Linked DNA regions of Homo sapiens: region 2 is linked to region 1. Evidence: promoter capture Hi-C in human tissues and cell types (Jung and others, 2019). All regions are on one chromosome and are shown on one strand. The core of a region is centred on a gene start or on the middle of the fragment in contact, and the rest is flanking DNA. Distances in the headings are between cores, read along the strand shown.

Region 1 (6,693 bases), core at 2,892-5,391:
GTCCTTGTCACCCAAAGGATTATCCTTTGATTGCCTGGATAATGTAATACTCATATTTAGGCCCTCTGTATTACAGAATTGTGCATTGCATATCTAGATAGGGTATAGTTCAACCTGTATCCCAGGACTACTGTAGCTCACTATTGAAAAATAAGCACATTTATATGTTAGGAAAGAAGAGTAGAAGAGTGTCGGAACTGGCATTGGATCAGTCATGTTTTCAGAAAAATATTACCTGTGATTGGGAAATAACAGTGTGCAGGGAATTGTGATACAGCCCTGGCCTTATATTGCTACTCAGGAGGCATCACAGAGGGAGAATGAAAATCATTTACAGAGGTATGAAATTAATCTGAGAAGGCTGCTTCAGTGATGTCTCATCCTCAGAGGAAGATGGATGAAGCAAGTGTCTGGAGACCTTTCCTGTCCATGGAGCCTGTAATGTGCTGGGATTTTGAATTCTGTGGAGCTGTAATTCCTCTAGTTGGCTGTGCATTCAGATTTTTAGTGCTCATTCTAGACCCACTGCTCTGAGCCCAGGGCCAGGGACCCTATATTTATATAAAGTTCTCTAAATAACTTGGTTGATGAGCCAGGCTAATGATACATGAATAGCATGTTAATCGTATTACCTATGTAGATGTCATTCTTTGATTCTAAAATATAAAGTTGTGAAACAGGCTGTTTCTTCATTAAACTCATCCATAAGTCAGTCAATGTTGATAAAGAGAAGAATATCCCACAACTCTAGGTTTAAGTTTCTGGCATTTTACCAACTTGTTATCTAGAAATTGTAGATTTTATATATAATAAACTCTTAAATTACCACAGTAATTCAAGATTTATAATGCGTAGTTTGCATTATGGGGCTCATATTTTCACCTAATGTTGTGGGGCTCTATAGCTCACTCTCTTGTAAGTTCACATTACCTGTCCCATTTATAGTCTGTGGGTGGGAAGTCATATTTTTTTTTTTTTGGTAATTCAGAATGCAGGTCAGAATGTTTGTGAGAACTACTCACTCTGCAAATGGAATGCATTGCAGCATATAAATCCAAAATATTATGATTATTATTGTTGATGTTGTCTCTGCCTATTAATTACCTGAAGATCAGTTCATCCAGTAAAACCCAGCTTTAAAATTTAGATTATGAGACATCTATATAATGTTAAATGGCTAGCTATCCTTTTTTTAAAATTTGCCTTTTAATGTTTACATGATTAAATGTATGAGGTGCAAAATTGTAACATACAGATGAATAGGTCACACATATAAAAAGAGATGCTATCTGGATCATTCTCTAATTCTAAGGGAATGGTTGAGGAGAAATAACAGGAAATCTAAGTATACAAGTATGAAGCAATTTTAATGTACTGAAAGCAAGTTATATAAAATAAAGTGTTTTTGGAGATTAATTTTGGTTACATGCATTTTAAAGATTATGTTGTCAGATAAAGCCAATAAGGAATAATCAAATTATTTGAAAAGTATTACCTTAAACAAAAAATTCTTACTGATTCCATTTTAAAGATTTATAACATAAGTACAAGTTTCCCAACTAAGAAAAAAAGAGAAGTGATTCCTTCCTCCAGAGTACCTTATAATGCCTGAATAAGCAATCCAAATAAATATTTTAAATTTTCAGAAATTACCCTGAAAAATACAAATAATGCTGATATCCAAATATTCAGAAATCACTGCATAGATTGGAATAAACATACTGGTACTTAAAATTGGTTAATAAATCATCACTGGAGTAACTAAAATATTTTAGACATTATAGGAACATACATTGATATTTTCAAAGATGTTAGTATCTCAGAGACACTTTGCATAAATAAGTATTGCTAGTTACTGGACATAATAAAGTAGAATTATTCTAAAAGCTTTCCAAGGATAAAACTGTGTTAGTATACTGGTAGTAAAATGTATAATTAATAAAGATGCTGCAGCTATATTTTCCCACAGTGAAATCCTTGCACAAGAGAAGTATCTGTAATCCTGGTCTACAGAAATTATTTAAGATGTGCTATTACACTAAGAAATAGAAATAAAATTACCTCTGTCAAATTGTACCATAATGACATTAATTTGATATTATAATATCTATCTCTCTTAAGAATTAGACATTGTCTGTAGTTTTGGTATGAGAAGGTTCAGTAAGAAAGATATTAAAATATAATTTGACCAGCAGAACTCCACTATGAGCTGAAAATTTAGATGATTTATAAACATTAATGGAATGGTGGCTGTCTCATTATGCTTATTTAGTAAGGGAAACAATTAAAATATGTACCTAGTACAACGATGACTTTTGGGAGTAAAGAAATTCACATTAGCTGTTCAGATAGCTAGATACATCAGCATATTTCACAATATATTTTATTTCCCTGGTGCTTATGTATATATGGATATTATTGAACTTTATAATTCATTATCTCCATACAAAGAAGTAAACAAAACAAAGATACTTAACTAGTAAGACACGGCTGCTAAATGCATACGCACCTTTTTTTTTTAAACAAGTTTATACAGCCTGTTCTTGTTAAATATTTTAGCGAGAACTAAGTTTTAAAGCTTGATAATTATAGTTATCCATTCTGAAATGACATTTCTCGTGATTTTACTCCTTGTCACTTATATGTATTTAAGCTGGCCTACCTATCTTTGAACAGTATAGGCAAAGAAAAAGGAATATGGTATTAGAATTCACCTTCACTTGATGGAGAACCGGATGTGGTTATCTGGGTAAGAGCCCAGGTTACTTGGATGGAGAGATGGGTTTGCTGGTTTACACTAGGAAGAGTGACGTATTTACCTCGATTCTACTGAAAGCGGATAAAAGCAGTACCATCACTGTGACCTAGGAAAAGGGAAAATGTAAGCCCACTAATATGGAAGCCCATTCAGAAACATTTTCTGTGAACGATAGGAGGACCAGCCTCATCATATTCCTGCTTACTGATCCACATCTGCTGGAATGTGGACAGGCTGGCAAGGATGGAGCCCCCAATCCAAACAGAATACTTCCGCTCTGGGGGAGCTATGATCTTGATTTTCATGGTGCTGGGTGCCAGGGTTATGATTTCTTTCTGCATCCTGTCAGCAATGCCTGGGTACATGGTGCTCCCTCCAGATAACACGGTGTTGGCATAGAGATCCTTGCGAATATCCACATCGCACTTCATGATAGAGTTGAAGGTTGTCTCATGGATCCCACTGGACTCAATGCCCAGAAAGGAAGGCTGGAAAATGGCTTCAGGGCATCGGAAGCGTTCATTCCCAATGGTGATCACCTGCCCATCAGGAAGTTCATAGCTCCGTTCCGGTGAGGAGGATGCGGCTGCCCTGACCATCTCCTGCTCAAAGTCCAGGGCTACGTAGCACAGCTTCTCTTTGACATCTCGCACAATCTCCCGCTCAGCAGTGGTGGTGAAGTTATAGCCTCGCTCTGTCAGGATCTTCATGAGGTAATCAGTCAGGTCTCTCCCTGCCAGATCCAGGCGTAGAATGGCATGAGGCAGGGCATAACCTTCATAGATGGGCACGATGTGAGTGACCCCATCCCCAGAATCCATCACGATGCCTGTGGTCCGTCCTGAGGCATAGAGGGACAGCACAGCCTGGATGGCGACATACATGGCTGGTGTGTTGAAAGCCTCGAACATGATCTGAGTCATCTTTTCCCGGTTGATCTTGGGGTTCAGGGGTGCCTCGGTGAGGAGGATGGGATGCTCATCTGGTGCCACACGGAGCTCATTGTAGAATGTGTGGTACCAGATCTTTTCCATATCGTCCCAGTTGGTGACCACTCCATGCTCGATAGGATACTTCAGGGTCAGGACGCCTCTCTTGCTCTGAGCCTCATCTCCCACGTAGCAGTCCTTCTGGCCCATGCCTACCATAACGCCCTGGTGTCGAGGACGCCCTATCATGGAGGGGAACACAGCCCGGGGGGCATCGTCACCACCAAAGCCTGCCTTGCACATCCCTGACCCATTATCCACTACCAAGGCAGACAGCTCATTGTCAGTCATGGTGCTGGCTGAGATCTTCCAGACGAGTGAACAGGACAAGTGAATAGACAGTGAGTAAGAGAAAGTGAACAGGCCTAAAACACTCCAGAAATGCTTTCAGACACGGGAGGCTGCACCGGGACCACAGGTATTTAAAGGAACACACTGACTCCGCCCATGTCCTACTCCACCAGTTCCCAGCATTTCTGGATGAGGTCATCTCTGAGGTATTAATGATGGTGATGATTACATAAACAATTAGATCTTTCTACATAAAGAGAAAATTGGCTGCCAAGTGGTCAAATCTCAGGTTCCTGTAATTAGGCAACCCACACATGACCGTCAGCCTGCCTGGTGAGGTCTCTAGATAACTATGATGATGCAGTGGGGGATATAAAAGCAAGATGAAAGAAAGCTGGTGCTAGGTATGGCAACACTGCTGGGAGGAAGGCTCCCTCCTTAGCGTCCCTGAGGATTCACTTTTCCTACACTAGCTTACCTTTTCATTCTTAAGATACTGTTCTGATGAGGGGTCTTACCCTGCAATCTTCACTTTTTCAAGATTTTTGTTTCCATTAGATTCCTAATCCCACAGGGTGTCATCATCGTAGAGACTGTTTTAGTAAATGAAAATAATAAATGGCTAAGGATGGCCTGATGGCTGTAATTACAATGCACTTGTGTCAAGCAAAATGTAGAGATATTTAATAGACTTCTAATCCATCAGAGATCAAGCGAAAGGAATAGAATGATTGCTAAAGTTAACCCATATAGATACTTTTTTCTGATATAAATTTCTAACAACCAAATTTCATTAAACATTTACTGTGTCTAGACATTGTTCATAGAACCAGGTTCATTGGGTCCATGTTAATTGTATAATGACTGAATGTCAACTATTTTGCATGATTTATTAAGATGCAGGTTATAAAAATTTATTTATTTGCAACAACTCTTGAGTTCTGCAACAATGGACAAAATGAAGTGATAAGACAAATTTGAAAAATTATATATTTAAACTAATCCTTAAAACATTTTGATCTTCAAGATACATATACTATATTATAACATTAAACCTCTATGTAGTTATTAAAATCTATACAATTAGAATTATACTAGCTTTCCTTCCATTTCAAGATATATTACACCCTGATCACTTCATAGCAACAATTTGTTTGGGTTCCATGTTTCATATAGAAATACAGACTACCTGAAAAGATGTGTATGATGGTAAAATGTAGGACATCAGCAATGTGTTACAGAGAAATAGCATTTAAGAAAGCTCATTACTTCTGCTCCCCTATGTGTTAGGCGAATAGAATATAATTATCTTTGTGAGCTCTTGTAAAGCAAAGAAATTTTCCATGTCTACATCTGAGTTCTCCAAAATAATCTTTATTTGGGTTCATCATTCATTCATTTACCCAATAAAGCTTGCTTTGTAAGAGGTAGCACAGCCCCTATTTACTGGACAAAAAACACCCTCCAGCTCAAGGCCAGGAGAACTAACCTGAGTCTTTGCCCAGTGAGCCTCTTGGAGAGTCATGGTGTAGCATCAAGCTGTGAGCATCCAGCCCTCTTCTTTGTCTATAGCTTGATATAGATTTATTTTATCCAGTGCTGTAATATGCCTTCAAAACCTTTCTGGTGACAATCAGTCATGGCAGAATGTATGTTTCATCACAAGATCCATGGTTTTGCTTTAGGGCTCACCAAAACAGTCCTTTCCTTTAATCTTTTCTGTAACTGCAAAATTCCTTCTTCAACAGTGTTAAAAACCTTCACACTGAATGGTTTTATGAACTTCCTTGTTATGTAGTACAACCAAGCTTTTGATTAAAACAACATTTTATTGCTATAGGATGGTGCTTCTGGGAATTTTTTAAAATCCCATAACAAACTACATGCACATTTTACAAAATGGAAAAAATGAAATACACATTGTATTTAGCACAAGTCCCCATTTATGAATGCTCCGGTCTGGAATATAAAACAAAGCCAAGTTGGTGGAAATGTTAGTGGAGGAGCCCACATAGTACCAAGTGCAGCCTTAGATCCTACACTTACTAGAGTGCTGTCCTTAGAATCACCTTCAACTAAGGGATATTTGGTACTGAGTCCACACAGCATAACTGATGCCTTGAGAGTGTGGCTGATGTGTGATTTTGCTAGAGACTGTCTAGCCTGCTTTAATTCCGGTGTCCCAGGAGCAAATTTCATCAGTTATGTATTCTTAAAATAAGCTTATGCTCTTCTAATTAACTCTCAATAATGCAAGAGGTGCTTATCACAATTCAACAGCCATTAAAAATGTCATCTGTTGAGTTGGTTAAATTTTTAAAAAGTAGTAAGAATTTGTGTTGAGTAAAACATAGAAAGATGGGTTTACAAATACTGGGCTCTGGAAGCTGTGAGTAGGGAGTACTGTTCTTGGAGGTAACAGACTTTGTAACTGACCAGAATTTACAAATGTTTAATTAATTACCTAAACCTTTAGGGCCCTTCAAGGTTCACTCATGGAAGCCCAGAATATTCTTTTTCTTTTACATTTTGCCTAGTTTGACTATCATGCAGATACACGAAACTAGAGTGAGGTTTAAGTATGGGCATTAAATATGAAGACAACTGGTGGAAGCTACCGTGTCTCCTTGCCTTGTCTTTGTCAACCTTAGACTT
Region 2 (6,693 bases), core at 1,486-3,985, 260 kb after region 1:
AAGAGAGTAGAAGAAACAGTTTCTGTTCCCAGAGTCAATAAAGCAGTTGGATTGGAAACATTCCTATAAACAGAGACATGATGAACCATTTACTGATAGTTCAGGGGTATTTATGCTAAATTATGTTCCTTAATACTTATATCCAAATTCACTGACATCAACTTAAAATGAAAAAGATTAATCTAAATAAAATCTTGATATATCAGAAATTTATTACTGAAGGCCAGAGACTGAGGTCTGGGGTTTTGACCAACAGGGATTGGAAACTAGAAATTAGGGCAGTTAATTAAGGTCTTTGACTGCTGACTACAGAAATTCTTAGATTGCTTGGAATTTTCAGATGACCAAATCTTCTAAAGAGTAATAGTAAACAGCTGATCTTTATATCCAGGTCATATTTATCAGTCCTACAGCTCAATGCTGACCCCACGGGAAGGGCTGATGAAGGTGAATAAATCAGGATACAAACAGCCAAGAGAAAATCTGTAAATACAGAGGTGCTTCTCTCTTGCCCCAAAAACTTTTCCCTGTTCTACTCCCATCAGTCAACCTTCTCTGTATTCTATGAGATCCTAAACCATTAGAATCCTAGGCTTTGTTTTCTCCTTTCTCATTTGTCATATTATTTGACAAGGCGGCACACTCAATTTTCCAACCTTTTTATTGTCTTTTGTTCAACAGTGCTACATTCTAGCCTGGGTCTCAAAATCCTTCTCCTTGCTTTGCTTTCTCTAGGCTGCTGCCCTTCTTGCTAATTTTTTGATCTTCTCAACTGTACAAAGGTCATCTGTCTGTTGCACTATCCAAGTCAATTTGTGCAGTGAGTAAAGACGCAGAGTCTCTGTTAGAGCTCTCAGGTTTCTGTGTTCAAGAATGCTGGGCCAGTAGGCTGTCTTTTAGAGTGAGACAGTGAAGCAAATAATTCCCCAGGATGTTTTCTGAGATTCCATTGTTAAACTCCAGTTTTTCATTAATGGCTCTAAATGGTCATTATTGCAATTAAAAAAATTTTTCCCTGTGGTTATGTGTGTGTGTGTGCACGCATGTGTGTGTAGGGCCAGAGTAGTGCATTGGGGATATGAGATTTGAGGGTGAGAACTTTGCCTTGAAGATTTTTAGGTTCTGAAGGCAAAATCTAAAATTAAGGGATCTTACAAGAAAGAAAAACTATAGAAGGCAACCATAAGTTATAGATTTCTGGGGCAATCCAGTATTCATTTGTGATTCACTCAATACACATTTACTGAGACCTTATCTGCACCAGTCACCCTAGACATTGAGCAGTAAGATGCATGCCCTACCCTGAAGATGCAACTGTTTCCAGACAAACAGCCTATTCAATATGATGCAATGACTTCTGTAGTGGAAATATTTGCAAAATACTGTAGTAGCGTAAGCATTAGATTGTAAACTGATTGAGGGCAGAGCCTGGGTCAAATTTACCTTTGTGACCTCAGCATCTAGCTCAGGTTTTGGCACATAGTACATGCTTGATTTATATTTAATGATTGATTGAATGAATAAATATTTTCCCCTATGTGTCTGCCTATATCAACCATTTCTCTCCTGTTATTCTGATACATGGCTTCCCATTTTGATATGCAGCTTTTTGTCTGTGAGAGTGCTTTACCAATGTTTTGTATGTCTACTATATTCCAGTCTTTATTGGGCACCTACTTTTATATCAATGATACTCATTGATGAATAACATGTACATATATCAAAACATCTCACTATACCCCATGAATATATACAATTATTTGTCTATTAAAACATATATTTTAAAAAACCAATAGTTTTTAGATGCCACGTGCTTCAGGTGACTTTCACACGTTAAGTCTCACATTTGGTTGGGATGACATAAGAAGTCAAAAGGAACTAATTCCCTGTACCTTGGGTCACTTTTTAAAAGGAAAAAAATAAAGAAAACAAACCCAAATTCCAGTGTCATTAATGCCAATGTAAAGTGAAGCTTTTTCCTTGATGAAAGGGCCATGTATTTTGGGTCACATAACAAAGAGCAACATTCTATCCTTCCCCTGATTTTGAAATTATAAAATATTTCTTCTGTGTTTTATAAATACAGAAGACTAGACACAGTATAAGTAATAACAAAATGATCATCACGTCAGCTTAGACACGGCAAATGTGTCCTGCATAGCCCATCTCCCTCCCTCTGGGCCTCTGCTTCATTGCGTGGCCTTCCTCCTACTCAAGGGCACTCAGTACTCTGCAGGTGGAGCATGGAAGATGAGTCCTGGTGTACTTATAAATGGAAAACCATAGAGTAGCAAAATAGAATAAATGGTCACTTCATACACGCACATGACTGACTCTCAGAAACACACTGTCAAATAAATAAAACAAGTCACAGAATATACATAATATGACACCATTTACATTAGCTCAAATTTCAAAATCATATAAAATGTAATCATATGTCATTTGGAGATGCTTAAACAAGCAGTAAAATGATAATGAAAAACAGGAAATAATCATTTTTAAGGACTGTTTCTTTCTTTAAAGCTTTCTTTGATCCTTTAAAATATATTGATGGTCACTGGGTCACATTCATGCAAACAGGAAGAAGAAACCTTTATTCATTATGCTGGATGAATGAATTGGGTGGGATTCCTATGGACAAATTAAATGAAAGCTTAGTAGCTTAAGAAATTATTCACCTATCATTTGGCTTTTGCCTCAACTTTAAGAAACATCACAGGGTGTTTTACTTACTACAGTCTTTACAGTGGTGCTATGAAGCTTAAATATCAAGCTGAAGGCCCCAGTGACTGATTTTCACTTTTGCTCATTACATTTGCAGTGAACATCCTAAGTAACGAAGTAACTAGCTAAAGTAAGCTTTTACTAGTAATAGTGTGACAGACATAGAGGAAATACCAAATGAATCACAAATAGGCTAAAGCAGAAGAACACAGATTATCAGCTCAGTGTAAATTATAAACTTTGGGGCAATAAAAAGCCATAGTTAAAGTTTAAAATATTTAAATGCCAGGCTCTGTGATGTGTCCTTTTCTTATTTAATCTTTATGTGGCGCCTTTAAGTTAGGCATTATTATCCTGGATTTACGAAGGTTTGCAAAGGAGGACATTGATACTTACAGGGATTAACATCGCATGTCAAAAGTCATAAGACTGTTACTTGACAAGGCTGGGATTTGAATGCAGGTTCATTTGACTCCTAACTTCTTGCTTTTTCCACAATGTTATTAATGCTGCTTATCAAAAAGAAATAAGATAAGCTTTATCTTAGGTATGTGGGGTCTCGACACATCCTATTCAAATTATCATGTGGATAGGAAGCTATTATCAATGTAAAACAATTATATTTATCCATCATAGCGTGTAACCCTGAGACCTGGAAATTTAGGGGACAGAGAATGGGATGTGGAGTCAGAATACTTAAGTTTGAGCTCTTGTTTAAGTATTGGTTGGGGTCATGATGACACATTAAAAACTTGATTCCCAGTATACCTACCTGTACACTGACAGTAATAATGCCTTCTCTTATTTCTTGTTTGTTTATTCCTTCACTTTTAGCCTAATTTCCACTTTCATTTCCTTCCTCCTTACTCCCATAAGCAACCATTCTAATGTGTTTGATTGATGCTCATCTTTTAATTTGTAATTATTCTTATAAAATGTGAATTAAAATGTTGTGTGTGTGTGGTTGCCATTAGGGCTCTCTACCTATATATTCCAGTTTCTTTCCTTCCAGTTAGGATCACAATTATCTACTTTTTTGAGGTTGGCCATGGCCATTTGACTTGTTTTGGCAATGAAATGTCAGTGTAATTGATGGGTGTCATTTCTGAGTGGATGCCTTTAAAAGCCAGGATATGATTCACCATATTTTCTTGCCCTTACTACAGTGACCAATGGTATTATTTAAAAATGTATTACCTGGCACATACTTACACTAAAAAAGTATTTGCTTATCTGAAATTCAAAATTACCCAAGTGTCCTATGTTTTATTTGGCAATCCTATCTCCAGCAAAATCTTGTAGTTGTTACATTTTAGGGTTTCAAGATAACCTAATAGCAATAAAATCATTTACTATGTTCAATGTTATTTCAGAATTTAAAGCTTGTACCTCAGTAGCATTTTTATTTAATGTCATTGTTTAGAACATGTGCAGGGATGTGAAGCAAAGATTGGACAAGTGAAACGTTTGTCAAAGGGGTGTTAAATAGTGTCTTAGTTGGCTCAAGCTGCAATGTCTTACTCTGTTTTGGCTGTTATAACAAAATACCATAAGTTGAGTGTCTTATAAACAATGGAAATTTATTTCTTACAGTTCTGGAGGCAGGAAAGTCCAAGATCAAGGTGCTAACAGATTCGGTTAGATTCTTGTTCACAGGCGGCATCTTCTTTTTGTCTCCTCCTATGACAGAAGGGGCTACCTCCTTCAGGCTTCTTTTTTAAGGGCACTAATTCCATTCATGAGGACTCTGCTGTCATGAACCAGTCACCTTACAAAGGTCCTGTCACTTAAAATTATCACATTGGGGGTTAATATTTAAACATATGAGTTTAGGATACACACAAACATTTGGACCATAGCAAATAGTAACCTATGCATTTGATGCCTCTGACCTAATGGGTCTTAAAGAAGCCGATTATGCAGAAGGCATTTTAAAAAATTATAATTTCCACTTTTAATTTAAATTCAGAGGGTACGTGTGCACATTTGTTACATGGGTATATTGTGTGATGCTGAGGTTTTGGGTTTGATTGATACCATCACCCAGGTTGTGAGCATAGTGCGCAATGGTTAGATTTCAACCCTATTACCCCTCCCTCCTTCCCCCCTCTAATAGTTCCTAGTGGTTATTATTGCCATCGTTATATCCACAAGTATGCAGTGTTTAGCTCCCACTTATAAGTGAGAACATCAGAAGGCCTTATTATAAGGACAGGGTGTGGCTATAAAGTCTGAAAACATGTTATTGATCATGTCATCTAAAATAATGTAATAGCAATAAACTACTTGTTAGCTACATTTGTTTATGTTTTCAGACTTTGTGACTATCTTATAATTTCTCTGCTCTTCAGATTAAAAAAGAAACAGGACCTAAGCTTCAAACAGTTTAATCTTATTCTGTCAAAATTTCTCCCCTTCTTAGTGAAGTTCCTAAAGTACCTGCATAGAGGAGAAGGCAAAGGAAATGTGTGCTATTACTATAAGGCTTTTGCCTCAAATCTTAGTCTAGCCTCTTGGTGAGAAGGACTGGACCACATAAAAGTCTCATTTTTCCTAGATCAGTCAAGCTGAGCATATTGGTTACCTCGAAGCTAGTATCAAAGTTCTTCCTTTCCTAGCATTCCAGTGCAAGGAAAGATAAGCCAAAGGAAAGGAGAAAAAAATAAACCAGGATTCCTAGAACAGAGCTGATCTCTGCTCTCCAGGCGAAGCCCTCTCATTGCAGCACAGGGGTCCATGTTAGCACTTCAGCTGCCTAGGACAGAGTCCAGAGGGAAGAGATAGCACAGCACCAGAGCCTTGGGAACTTGGCTTCTCTGGTCCTTCACATAAAAAAACTCCAAATGACCAGCACCTGACATTGTTTCCCATGGGTGGCAAAACATTTATTTAACATCAAACTATATGTTTGTATCATATTTTTTCAATTCAAAGAGACCCTAGACGCAAGTATGATGCACATAAAATTTACTATGTTTTTCAAGGTAAAAAAGAAGTAGTACATTAAATGTATACATTAACTATAAAATCAAACTCAATTTCTCAACTGTTTTGTGAAGGGGCACAAATGATATTGGAAACAAGGAAGAGGGGAATACACTCACATATTTTTCTCATAGTTACCAGTACTGTGCTTCTTCAGAGTGGGATGGAGAAGAGGAGGTGGAAAGAGTGGGGAGAGAAAAGGTGTTGAGGGCTTCTGCTGGGAGATGCACTATCATGAGGAAACACACTGGAGGCCTTGGTGTGTCCTGGTGGTAAGTAGGGGGTAAGGGAGGAAGCACTCTCTTTCTTCATTTGTTTACTTCTAGTGTTTATGGAGCTCTAATTATCCACCAGGCAATCTAGTTGCTGATGCTACAGTGGTGAAACAGTCGTCTTACTATAGGCTGCCATTCTGGTGGTGGGAGACCAAAAATACAAAATCATTTTTAAAAGGCACTGTACTTTTTCATAGCAATAAGAAAAACTGTTTAAAAACACAGATTTAGCAGAATAAAAAGAGGATTAAAATGTCAGTATTACAAAGAGCCTCTAACTATGGCCAAGGGACATCTTCTGCTGATAAATAAGCAAGGTACCTATTTCCTTTATTTTGTTACTGTGAGTGTCCACTGGTAGAATGCACTGGGTCCATTCCAGTAAGCAGGGCAGCCTTTACTTACTTCTGTAAGTCTACATTTATCCCAAGCAGACCATGTTCCAAAGATGAGTGAGTTTGTTTGAGTCTAAATGTTCTAGAGTCTCAGTGGCCTCAGTTATTATCTATGTAAGGGATAACTGCACTCTGCTTGTCCTGCCTCCATCCAGCCTTTCAGGTCCACATTACATCTCTACTGTGTATACACTTGAGCTCTTAAAGGTGCCTCATATTCTAGGCTGCTACTCAAGATCCCTCCACACACCTATGAGGAGATGTTCTCTATGACAACCCTGCTGCTTGTGCTTGGACACACCATCCTGTCC

What was found. Contacts are between HindIII fragments. The study calls those that stand out against the background at their distance.
Region 2: a fragment that was not itself captured here is called in contact with the fragment with the promoter of ACTBL2 in region 1 in 1 of the 25 tissues and cell types used here (dorsolateral prefrontal cortex).

Annotation. Positions count from the first base shown.
Region 1 is chr5:57,478,670-57,485,362 of GRCh38, forward strand. ACTBL2 (actin beta like 2) reads right to left here and starts at 4,142. Exons shown (of 1, transcript NM_001017992.4): 1 at 1,349-4,142. The coding sequence starts at 4,038. The coding sequence ends at 2,908. All of the region lies in intron 1 of RMEL3 (enriched in melanoma 3), which reads left to right. The HindIII fragment of the contact is 3,416 bases long and covers 2,233-5,648 here.
Region 2 is chr5:57,737,670-57,744,362 of GRCh38, forward strand. No RefSeq gene overlaps it. Among named protein-coding and RNA genes, the nearest start is that of LINC02225, 160 kb to the right of the region's middle. The HindIII fragment of the contact is 3,739 bases long and covers 867-4,605 here.